Linked DNA regions of Homo sapiens: region 2 is linked to region 1. The links are contacts of gene promoters, found by promoter capture Hi-C in human tissues and cell types (Jung and others, 2019). All regions are on one chromosome and are shown on one strand. The core of a region is centred on a gene start or on the middle of the fragment in contact, and the rest is flanking DNA. Distances in the headings are between cores, read along the strand shown.

The links. The method cuts DNA at HindIII sites, captures the fragments that hold promoters and counts their contacts. A contact is called where the count stands out against the background at its distance.
Region 2: a contact is called between a fragment that was not itself captured here and the fragment with the promoter of FGF7 in region 1, in 1 of the 25 tissues and cell types used here (H1 embryonic stem cells).

The regions. Positions count from the first base shown.
Region 1 is chr15:49,418,601-49,425,446 of GRCh38, reverse strand. It overlaps FGF7 (fibroblast growth factor 7), which reads right to left and starts at 2,205. Exons shown (of 4, transcript NM_002009.4): 1 at 2,007-2,205; 2 at 864-1,415. The coding sequence starts at 1,149. All of the region lies in intron 11 of FAM227B (family with sequence similarity 227 member B), which reads left to right. The HindIII fragment of the contact is 10,247 bases long and covers 1-5,328 here.
Region 2 is chr15:49,249,984-49,256,631 of GRCh38, reverse strand. All of the region lies in intron 5 of GALK2 (galactokinase 2), which reads right to left. Among named protein-coding and RNA genes, the nearest start is that of GALK2, 83 kb to the right of the region's middle. The HindIII fragment of the contact is 3,816 bases long and covers 2,765-6,580 here.

The DNA of each region.
Region 1 (6,846 bases), core at 956-3,455:
TGAGGTGTGTATCTTATTCCATTACATTTAATACTATTGAAGTTGGTTATTCATCATAACCATTAAATGCAAAACACAACCCTGATATTTTAACATAAGAAGAATAACTGATTCTTGGGAAAAATGTAAGGCTTTAAATTGAAAAACATGGAATTACCATCTCTTCCAGCCCACTTTTTTCCCCTCACCTTTACATTTTTCTTAAGATAGCACAGAACTTTTATGACATAAAAGATTTAGTTAAGGAAAACGTTAGGAGAGATCTGTTTTTCTGCCTAAGTTGATAAGTCATCAACTTAATACAAGCTCATTATGACTCAAATGAATAAGGATACCACAGATTCCCTTCTATTTTATCATTATACACAATTGCAAAGGAATGCATATCTTAGCACAGATTAAGTATTTTAATTTACATCATGAAAATATTATTTCAAAGAAAATCAAATTAATAAAAATAATTTCCCTACTCTTTAAACTAGTGATAAATAGCTTTTAGTGATAATTTATGAAGTTCTAAATTAGATATCTTAATGAGTTTTGCTTAGACAATATTAAGTCACATTTTGGTGTGAATAATATTATTTACATTTTGCTTAACTTATGAGCATTTTCAGGACAAGGAGTATATATTTTCAAATTGGCTTGGATTATCAGGTCCAACTATAATGTAAGTAGATTTGCCCTGTTAAAAGAGATATTTTTAGGGGCATAGTTCAACATAGTTCAATTTAGAGAAATTAGGTGACATTTTATTTAATTTTTTTTCCAAGAAGCAAAAGGAAGATGAGAAAACATATCACCTGAAAATTGATCCATTAACAGATTGCTAAGGTTCATGAGCAGTACTTAAAATTACTTACTGTAATTATTCTTCATCTCTTGGGTCCCTTTTACTTTGCCTCTTTTATCGATCCTCAGGTACCACTGTGTTCGACAGAAGAGTCTTCTCACTCTTATATCCCCTCCTTCCATGTAATCATAACTTCTTGTGTGTCGCTCAGGGCTGGAACAGTTCACATTTGTAGCCATTTGCTCTGGAGTCATGTCATTGCAAGCTAAAGATATAGTACCCACTAGACAGATAATGTGAAAGCATGATCTGTAGAGCAAAGTTGGCAGGATCCATGTCAGTATCCATTTGTGCATTATAGTGTAGTGCTCCGGGTGTTCATGAATAACATAATGAAAATGAATCTTGAGTTGATTGTTACTCCTAGGTCATTGACCTCTTCCTATCTGTGAATTGTAGATTGATTTAAGAAAGAGTAGTTGCTCTTTCCAAATTGTTAGCCTTATCCTTTTAGTTCCTGATAACAACACAGGATTCCTCCTTAAATAACTCTGTTGATAAATCCTCATAAAAACAGTTCGTAGTAAGTTCAGTTGCTGTGACGCTGTTTGCTATTTGACTTCTGTTTGCAATGAGAGATTAAGAATAGGGAGGGGAGGAGAGAGGAAGATAAAAAATTGTATGTGTAAATTTTAGTGGGTAAGTAGTAGCATTAGAATACAGTATAGGTTATTCTTTGAAGATACATTTAAAACAGCCTTCACAGAGGATGTCAAAATCTTTACCACTTTATGTGTAGATTTATAAAATTTATGCATGAGTAGAGACAAAACAGAATATGACTGTACCATTCATTCCAATTGCTATTTTGTGAGAACCATACTGCACTCAGAACTATTGATTTAAATTAAGTTTTTACAATTACTGCTAACAAAGTGTAACTGCTTTCTCCCTAGACTTCTTTATTATATGCTTTTACATTTGTGGTTAATCAATTATTTTCTCCTGAACTGCCCAGGTTTTTTAAGTTAAATGTCAGGATTGCTCTGGAGAACTTCAACCTTATCTTTATGTTCTACAGCATAATTACTATAGTTACATGGCTCAAAAATCTTGTAACTTTACTTTCCTGCTCAGTACTAAAATCAGAAAAAGAGATAAACTTTTAGAAAACATTCAGCATTGTTTTAAAAGACAAATAACAGTAACTTACTTGTTTTGTTGCTAACAGCTGGATATATAAGAATTCCATGTCTGTTGTCTGCCTGGTGCAACTTGAGCCTTTCTACTGTAGCTACAAACTATTTCTCAGCTGAAAAGTTCTCCAGCAGAATCATAATTGTTTCCATAAATCAACAGGCAGAAGGATTTTCTCTCTGTGTGTGAGCGCGTGTGTGCTTGTGTGTGTGTGTGAGCCTTTTATTCAGGGCTTTTCGATAAATACCTTTGCTGACCTCATTGGAAGCAATTAAAACTTAGCCAGTGAGCTGTTAGTTGAATACAACAGCGAGAATAAAAGGAGGCTTGTATAGTATTCAATGGTCATGAGAGGGAGCTATGAACATGTTTTATGCTTAAATCTACAAGTGGGTACCTACTTTGTAGAAACAGATCTCTGGTTCTGAAGCAGTTAGAAGGGGAAAGGGAATTTTTTAAACCTTCTTTGCAATATAGCAGTTGTATTATACTTGGAAAATTATTCATTTGAACATATATATAGGGTTTTTTAATACTTAGAAAATCTTTTCCATAGCTTTATGATACATGCATTTCTTCAATTACTTCTTTGTGCTCAGAATGTTAGAACAAAACTGGTATGTGTTAACTAACATATGAGTGCCTTAAAGCACTGTGTAGATAAGTTGAATATTATCACATCATACAGAGACAATTCATTGAATATGAATATAAGTACAATTTTTATGTATTATATTCCTAGGCTGAAAGTGAGAAGATCTAGATTCTTATTTGTGTTGGACCACTAATGACCAGTATGACTTCGGGCAAGTTACCTGCTGTTCCAGAGTCTCAGCTGCTACATTTGTAAAATTGGTGTATTGGTCTAATGCCTCTATGGTGCTTTACAATTCTGTGATCTGTGACTTATACTCACTACTAATATAAGGAACAGGGCACCTACTTTTAAAAGCTGTTATTCTTTAAAAAGGAGGAAATGGTTTCACATTGATTATCAGTGTTTGATTTTTGCCTCAATAAGAATATTGGAACAATAAATGTTAATTTAGAGATGGAATTATAATATGTATTGCTAAGGTAAATAAGTGAAAGCTATTTTACTTTCCAGCATGAGTTCTCTCCTTTACTTCCTGTTCTGTTATACATGAAGTAGTGCTCAAGTGTTGTATTAGATTCTTGGTGTAGAATAATTGTGTTGTCTATCTAAATCAGTATTAAGAAAGTATATTAAAATTATCTTTTTCATGTTATATACTCCTCAAAACACACACGCGTGCACGCGCGCGCGCGCGCACACACACACACACACACTCTCTCTCTCTCTCTCTCTCTCTCTATGTGAAATGCACTACTTTACCACCAGGTGGTGCATGTAGACCAAATAGGAAAAGGAAATTAAATCTACTCAACTGGATTATAGTTTATGTGATTTCTCTTTGTATCTGTCCCTTTAGGGAACAGAATGAAGAGCACAGAATAGTTCAGATGTACCCAGTTACTCTTCATATGCCAAATGTTGAATGTTCCACATTTATTAAAGCAGAGGGGGACAGACTCTTTGATCATTGCATCTGTTGAAAGCTAGAAAGCTGAAAACATCCTATCATGTATTCTCTAAAAGGAGGAAGAGAAGGAGGAAAGAAAATATAATGTTATTGTGTTCTGAATCACACTCCGCTAGTTTGGGAGGTAACAATAATGAGCAGGCTCAGAATTCCTAGGACTTAGATATTGCTTCTAAAGAAATAAAAGTTATCAATAGTAAGTTTACAGTGTAAAGATATTCAAGAGCTACTAAATCCATTTGTTCCATACTGAACCTACAGTTTTTAAACCAAGAAATCAGTAAGTGAGAAGTCCACATTTGCTAACTAAGTGCTAAATACTTAAATGAAAGAAATGGATAGTTTGTTAGCAAAGAGTGCTTAGTGCCTCCTTAATATCTGCTACATAGGATTAACTGTAAAATGGGAAACAAAAGAATAAAATTGTGATCTATGAAAGTGCATTAGATGCTATTACACTCTGTAATTTGGAAATATGATCCAAGTAATATTAATGAACAGATTAATATCAACAAGGGAACTGTATCAATGGTTTAAATTCTTTGATTATCATTTTTATTGGAGAATTATTAATTCAGGATGGGCCCACAATTCATTAGGACCACAGCTATAATGGAGAACCAAACTTAGATTTCACTGTGCCCTTATTATGCTTATGCTTCTAAATGAATTCTCCAGGAACTAAGAATAACTTTAGGCAACTGTAGATGGGGTAACCCTCTGGATGTTTTAAGTTATACATTGGCAACCGTTTGTTGCTCTTGTTTTAATAGACCTATAGTGATAGATTAAGCACAGGAATACTTTGAACTATTGTCTTTTTTTTGTTATTTGTAGATTGAATTTTCTTTTTTAACACACCATTGCTGGCTTCAAAGAATTAACTGGCCCAGCATGGTGGCTCACGCCTGTAATCCCAGCACTTTGGGAGGCCGAGGCGGATGGATCACAAAGTCAGGAGATCGAGACCATCCTGGCTAACACAGTGAAACCCCGTCTCTACTAAAAATACAAAAAAATTAGCCGGGCATGGTAGCGGGCGCCTGTAGTCCCAGCTACTCGGGAGGCTGAGGCAGGAAAATGGTGTGAACCTGGGAAGCAGAGCTTGCAGTGAGCAGAGATCGCACAACTGCACTCCAGCCTAGGTGACAAAGCGAGACTCCATCTGAAAAAGAAAAACAAAACTTTGCCTCGTTCATAATCATGTATAATATAATCAGTAGAAGGGAACATAATTAAATATTTTCATTACTTTTCATTCTTACATCTTATTCTGTTCCATATCCTGTCAGTTTTCATTCTTCCCCAAAACATAGATAATTCTTTTTATTAGTTTCTTGTGTATCTTTTCAGAGTTTCGCTATGCTTGTACAGGCAAACTGGATACATATGTTTGTGTGTATATGTATATACACATACATATTATTTTTTACTTTTACCCTTTTTATACAAAAGGTAGCACGTCATATGCATTTTTTTGTATTTTTTTTTAACAGAAAAATCTTCCTATCTCATTATTTAGGAAGCTTCTCACATTTTTGTTTTTGTTATAGCTACAGGGTATTCCACCGAATGGGTATATCACAGTGTATTTGAGCAGCCTCCTATTGAGGAACATTTAATTTTCTTCAGTACTTTTCTATTACCAAAGAAATGCTGTAATGAATAAAGACAAAATATGTCATTTTATACTACGAAAATAAATCTATAGGATCAATTTCCAGAAGTAGACTGCCTGGGACAAAAGGTATTAAAAAAAAGATATTGCCAACTTATCCTCCACAGAGGTTGTGCTAGTTTTATAATCCCACCAGCAGTAGGTAAGAGTACTCATTTATTTCAAAAAATTTATTGTGAAAACATTTGGAGTTTTATTAGTCTGACAAGTGAAAATGCCATTAAATTGTAGTTATCCTTTGCATTTCTCTTCTTATGAGAGAAGGTAACCATCATGGACAAGTGCTACAAAGAAAAGATACATAGTGCCATGAGTATCTATAATAAGTGGCAATATGTAAGCTTTCCCTGCAAGAATTCCACTAAAGCTGCAACTTTACAGCATGAATGGGAGTTAACCAGGTGAAGAGGTACTATACAAAAATAAAAAATAAAAAAATAATAATAATAAAAAAACCTGTCCTTTTCACAGTGAAACACAGGTTTGGTCCCAGTAGAGAGAATGAGAAGGGACTGTGGTGCATGAAGAGGTTGGAGAGGCAGGCAGGATCTCCATGTGTTTTATTAAGGCATATGATCTGTATTCCAGGAGCAATAGGAAGCCATTATAATATGGTAAGCAGAAGAGTGACATGATCAGAATTTTACTCTGCCTCTGTTCTGGTCAAAACTTAATTCCTATTGGCAGAATGGGCTTATGAAATATTAAACTGTGTTCATTTATCCCATTTTTTTCTGTTCTTCATATTTTCAAAAAGATATTGGAAAGGAAAGGTTGAGGGAAAAAAGTCATAAATGCTTCCTGACTAGGGTAAAACATGAATCCCTTTCAAAAGGTCATGCCAAGCGCACTGAAAATAAAGGAAGCACTAGAGTGCATTTGAGAAGCAGCCCAGGGAAGCTATCACAGAGTCCCATGGACCTGGGAGCATAGAGAAAATTTATGGCCCCCATATTTGGGGAGCCATGCTTGTATATTTATCTGTACACAGCACCACCGCACATAGCAGAGGCAGCAATACTCCAGAGAATCAGGGCTGCCTCATGTGTCTGAACAAATAGGTCCATAAGGACCCCTCATAAACATTCCCATATTTTAAAATAATTCTGGAAGTAGGAGGGAGTTCAGAACTGTAGAAACTGTGTGAACAGAGTGAATGAATACCCCAGAAGAGGAATCAGGGTAGACGAATGACTCAACACCCAGATGCCTTAGCTTTGGCCATACATAAAACTCTTGAAATCTATCCCATCTTGAAACAGAAGAGGGAAACCCTAGAATAACTGAAGTTAAGTTTTTTACCAAACTGGAAGAGCAGAATTCTCAAAATTAAAGCTAGGTTGATTTATATTTATAAATATAAATTTATATGTTATTCTTTGCATATCTGAAATTGTGGTCCAACACATATTTCTTTTTTTTTCTTTTTTTGATCTTTTAGGTTCAGGGGTACATGTGCAGATTTGTTATACAGGTAAACTCATGTCACAAGGGTTCAGTGTACAGATTATCACCGAAGCACTAAGCATAGTACCTGATAGTTATATTTTCTCTTCCCTCCCTCCACCCTCAAGTGGACCCCAGTATCTGTTGTTCTCTGTTTGTGTCCATTT
Region 2 (6,648 bases), core at 3,423-5,922, 170 kb after region 1:
ATTGACACGGATGGTACTGAGTAAGCAAATATACGTGAATGGTTCAGTACCAGCAATACAACTATCTGTCTGCCTCCTATAGATGAGGAAAGGACTGTACTGTTTATCTTTTCTTGCTTCCAATGTGCTAACTACATGACTAGAGAAACCTGAAAAGATCAAATAACAATCAAATGATGGTTCCATCAACACCACCCATCTGGAAAGAAAGAAAAGGCTAAAACACATAAGAAAGCATGCACATGAAAGGCAGCTATCTGCCCATGTCAGGGCTCTCTTAAGTCCACCTGTTCCCTGCAGAAGCTCTGGCTTATACCAATTTATCTAGACGGGCTACAGTATCATTTTTACAGTTATATATACTACTGATCAGCCTCTTTTAATCTAACACAGAGCTCTAGAGAATTAAGCCTGTGTAGCATAAACCCCTTAAAAGATTACAATAATTACAGACACAAAGACATGTAAATATTTGTTAGTCAAACCAAATTCGCGTTGCTTGGTATTTTCTTTGGAGCCTGCCCATGTCATTATACTGAAATGTGATATATACAAACCCTAAGTGACTGCAAGTGAAATAATGTAACCCTATATACACAGTGGCAGTATAAAATTACATCTGCTTTGGTTATTTTTATGTTAGACATCTCAAACAGTTTATTCCAAGCTTAGTACATTTTGTTTCCTAAACAAAACAATGAAGAACATGAACAGACTTAAATAGCAGTGCAATAATGAATTGAAATTCCTTGACAAAATTGAGAATTTGTGATTTTTAAGTCATTGCTATTTTTCACTCATTTGACAAACATGCATTATTAATTAAAACATGTAATAGAAGACTATGTTATAGTCTCTATCATCACTTTTAATACACTTTTAAAGAACTTTTATTAACAAAAACTCCACCTTTATAAAGGGGAATTCATATGACATACCTAAACTATGGCATTATTTTGATAGACAGCAGATCTCTACCTATCTCTGTGTATTAAATAATGTTAAGTACAATTGGAGAAACAGAAACCATGTGATGCAATTCACCAAGAAGGACATCCATCACCTATACAGTATTCTTGGGGCAAAAAACCTTAGTCTCAATCTAATAATAAGGCAACCGTCTGACAAATCCAAATTCAGGAAATTTGAACAAAAAAATTTGGCCTGGACGCTTCAAAATTGTCAGTGTCATAAAAGACAAAAAAATGCTGGGGAACTGTTCTAAAATAAAGTAAACTAAAAAAATGAAAAAAAAACTAAATGCAATGATGATATTAATTAAATCCAATTATTGGTAAAACTGAGTATTATTATGAGTAGTATTTAATTCCTTTCTTTTTAATTTTTCAGATCCAGAATGTATTCAATTATCTTGAATAAGTAAATTCTCAATCAGAAAAAATTAAAAGAAAGAAAGAAAAAGAACAAGAAAAAGAAGTTCTAAAGGACATTACTATTGAGACAATTGGGAAATTTGAATATGAACTGCATATTAGATAATAATATTATATCAATGTTAAATGTTCCAATGATATAGTGTGGCATATTAAAGAATGCCTTGCTTTGAGGGGATGAATATTGATGTACTCAGAGGTGATGTCCGCAATTAATTCCCAAATGGCTCAGAAAAAAAAGTAGAGAGAAAGATAAAGCAAATGTGGCAAAATGTTTCCAAGGATCTATGTGAAAGACATACATGTTCATTGCCTATTCTTGCCTCTTCTATCCTTTTGAAATTTTCTCATAATTAAAAGTTGGAAAAAAATTTTAAGTGGTACATTAACAATACATCTAATCATGTGTGTGTGAGAGATGTAACATCGCTGTCAATAGGTAACAATATTATCCCAAATAATTGAAGAAAATCAATGAAAACTTCTAAATATAAAAGCACCCTGCATTAACACATAGGTTTCTGTGAACTATCCCTAAAAAATCTACATCTTTTAAATTTTTCCAATAAATTTCTTCCTTTATCACCAAATTTTCTTTTATCCAAATTCTCTGCTTTATCACCAAATTTAAACCATAGTGACATTTGAAGAACTATTTATAAAACCTGATGAGAATTAAAATATTTTGTCATGAAAATAAATATAAATACAAATTAAATTATAAAAATAAAAAGGAGCACTTTCATTACAATGAAAAGGTCTTGACAGCATAAAGAGTCCTGATTGCTTAGATTTTTGCTTATATTTTACAAAGCAATAACATAATTTTATCAGAAGAAGAAATAATCAGATAATCTCTGAATGCCTTTGTAACCACAGGACTCATCACCAATTTTACTTTCTCTGTAACTTACTTAAAATGTAAGAGATTTATGGTCTTTGATGGTCACAAATAAATTCCACAGGGTCTTGCTTCACTTTAATTTATATAAATACAGTCAAAATTAACAACCAGTTGTTAATTCATCCAAATATAGTACTAACACTAGGGGAAAATGGCTGCTTTACAGATGAAGGTAGTTCACTAATTCAACCCAATCCAATTACTTGCCTCCTTTATGTCAGGCACTGTAAAGATGCTCATAAGAAAGTGATACAATCATCTCTCTTTAGGGAGAAAAGTTTTAAGGTTATTTACAATTTGCCAGACTAACTGCACTTCTTTTATTCTTAACAAATTTATATGTCCTTCAAGATTGAAAATTCATCCCTATTGTCAATACCAGTGGCTGACCCAAGATCCAGAAGGGCTGAATGAACCTAAGCCTATCCACCCAATGACTGTGCCCCTCAACAGTTTTGTGTAGTTGTTGTTGATGATGATGATGATGATGATGCTTGGTGTTTTAAGGTCCAAAGATGAAATGGGGACAATGTTAATATACTATAAAAGTGAAATCTTCCATATCTCTTTGATATAACATAAAGTCTAGAGTCCTAAGTAAACACTCCTATAGCTAGGCTCCAGGAAGTCTCTGAGAGGCAGGGCTCTGGTCTAAGAAGTTGGCAGTTGTACCTTACTTAACAGAGTTAAATGGCCTATCATATGGATCATGGTACAGTTCTTTGAAACTTTCCAAGTGCTAAACAGATGGTAAGTTACATTATTCATGATTCAAAAGTGTATGTCTTACTGCACAAATGCTATTGGAAAAAATATTCCTGCTGGCTGCTCTGCCTATGAAGTAGTGATTCTTTTATTCCTTTAGTTGCTTAATAAACTTGCTTTCACCACAAAAAAAAAGAAAGAAAGAAAAAATATTCCTGCTTACAATGCAAATCAGTCACAGTTTTGGTTCCTCTGAGTAAGCGTCTAAAGATAAAAGGTCACACCTGTAGTAGACAAGAGAACCCTGGGATCCATTTAGTGGAGATCTCCTGAGAGATGCTAAGTAAAATCCCTGAGTCTATGAGGCTCCCTGTGTCCAAGTACTTCAAAATGAAATGAGAGATTATAGAGTATTTTCAACTCAAGGAAGATAAAATTGAATGCACATATAATGATCCTATGCTATATGTGATTAAATATGACTAAAGTGACTTTTGCTTCACAATTGTTAGTTTAAAAGAAGTCAAACAGAAAATTAGTTTGAGCAGGGATAAATATTTGCAACATATAATAGATGAATGGTTAGCATATGAAGAGTTCTTATAAAGTAATAAGATGATTGATAAATACTCCAGGAGAAAATGAGCTGAGTTGATATACAGCCAAATCAAAAAATGCAAGTGATCAATAAAAGACATGGAAAAGATTAAACATTTAAACTATCTAATTAAACTATCTAATAATTAAAGAAATGGCCATGACAACATCTTTCAGATTAGGAAAGATTTAAAAGATTGATAGAACTTCAGTAGTAGGAAAATAGATCCTCTCATGCAATGTTGCTGCATTGCTGGTAAAATCTTTCCGGATTGGGCAGTGTATTTCAAAAGTAAAGTTATCATATCTTTTAACCCAGTAACTTTATGTTCTGGGATTTATGTTAAATAAAAAAGTGAATAAGTATGAAAATAATTGTCTACAAGAATATTCATCAGAGCCTTCTTTATAATAGTGGAAACTTGAAAACAACCTACATTTCCATCATAGAGGTCTAGTTAAATAAAGTATAGCATATCCTTATAAAGAAATATTATTAAGTATTAAAACTGATATTATACAAAACCCTGGAAACAACTGAAATGTCCAATAGTCAGGCCAATTTTAGAACATTACCATCACACCAAAATCTATAATTGGGCATTATAGTATGACCGTATATTAGAAAACAAGGCAGCCATTAAAGAGAATTCAGTATATGTAGATGTGCTGACATGGAATGATTCCCAATTTATGGTTTTAAGTGAAAAAGCAAAGCAAGGGGAAAGATGTGTGTGTATGTGTGTGTGTGTATAATTTTTTTTTTGAGACGAAGTCTTACTCTGTCACCCAGACTGGAGTGCAATGGTGCGATCTCGCCTCACTGCAACCTCTGCCTCCCGGGTTCAAGCAATCCTCCTGCCTCAGCCTCCTGATAGCTGGGATTACAGGTGCTCACCATCATACCCAGCTAATTTTTTGTATTTTTAGGAGAGACAGAGTTTCACCATGTTGGCCAGGGTGGTCTCAAACTCCTGACCTCAAGTGATCCACCCGCCTTTGCCTCCCAAAGTGCTGGGATTACAGGCATGAGGCACCGCACCGGGCCAATATATACATATATTTATATATAAAATTTTCCTGGGTGTTTTACAAAAAGGGCAAACATATGTATATATTACATTGGATAGAGTATTTCTGGAAGGATTCATTAAAAATCTTTTAACAGTGGTTGATCCTAGGGTTGAAGAAAGTCTTGCTATTTTTTATGTTTAGGAAGTACAGAACATAGAGAAAAGTATATAAAGCATAAAAATAAAGCTTAATAATTTGTCACAAAGGAAACATCCTCGTAACCACCATCAAGGTTAAGAAATGAAGCACTTAGAATCAGAGTGGAATGATGGTTGCTGGTGCAGGGTGAGGTGGATGGGGAGTTACTAATCAACTGGCATAAAGCTTCAGTCAAACAAGCTGGACAAGCTCTAGAGATCTGCTCTACAACATTGCACCTATAGTCAATGATAATGTATTATACATTTAAAATTTTGTTAAGAGGGTAGATCTCATGTTAAGTGGTCTTGCCACAATAAAAGAAAAAGTAATGAACCTCTGCCAGCACTCTAGAAGGTCTCTTCATGTCTCTACCTAATCATTTCTCTTCCCTAATTCCCAAAGGCAGTCATTATACTGAATTCTACTAATTTGCTAAGAGTTTTTATCATGAATGCATGATAAATCTTATCAAACTCTTTCCTTTATATATCAAGATGACATGTTTTACTGTTAATATGGTAAATAACACTGATTTTTAAATGATAAACCAACCTTAAATTCTTAGAATAAACTCATCTTGGCCACAATGTATTAGCCTATAATATTACCAGATTAAATTTGTGAACATTTTGTTCAGAATTTTTTGTATCCAATGTCATGAGAGAGATTGACCTGTAATTCTCTTTTCTTGTGATGTCCTTGTCAGGTTTGGTATCAAGCTATCACATTTGGTTTGGCAGAAAGGTTTTACTGGCCTCATAATACAAGTTGGGAAGTGTTCTTTGTTTTCGTATTCTTTGGAAGAATTTGTATATGCTACTTTTGCATGACATTTCCATTTTTATGTTAATCTAATCTCCCTACTGAAATTATAAACTTCTAAGGCCCAAAGACTGTATCTAAGTTTTCCTATATCCTGAGAATCCAACCGTTTGCTTTGGATATAGTAGGATTTCAAAAAAATATCATTATAACTTTGACAAAGAGTATAAAATCTGTCAACTTATTTAAAAAATCCAATTCACATTAATTATATACATGAAAATGTATAATTTACTTCCCTGTCTTTTAGGACATCAGAAGGATCACAGAATGTTAGGGCTGGACCTCATCTCCAGGGTTTTCCGATGTCTATGATACTGATTATATCAGACAATATGGTATAATTACATTATACCATAGGTAGCAGCATGGCTGAATAGAAAAGTATCCATTTTGGATCAAAAATATGTGAGCTGGAATCCAGACAACTCCAGTTACATGTGATTTGTCTTTGGTGACATTATATAAATTCTCTGAGCCTCATATTTTCCTCTGCAAAATTGAAATAGTAGTAAAACTTATTTACAAGACTACCACAAAGTTAGAGTTGATGTGCATAAAACATCTAGGTGCTTAACAGTAATTTTTTTAAAAAGACATCTTTTACTCTCATGAAAATTCTAACATAAAACTTTAAAGTCATATTTTGCAGTAATAACCTCCAAATCTTTGTGTCTCCAATACTGCAGTGCATGCTTTAACCAGTCTCATTTATTAACCTTTTCTCTTTGAATCACTTTCTTCTCCACACAATATGATTTGGCTCCTTACTCTTCCCATGACCACTGTTAGAAATGCTTGTTCCCCGGTGCCATAAAGAAATAGCACTTGAACATAAATTTAATTTCCTCAGCAAGGCCATTTTTACTTTCTGCAGAAAGGGTACACTCGCCAGCAGTTTTACCACAAGAGTACACCAAACAAAGGAGACAGAGTCATTTATAACCTGACGCGTCCACCCTACTGCTATGTCCGGTTTCCATTGGCTAGTACGGGACCTCACATTCTGTA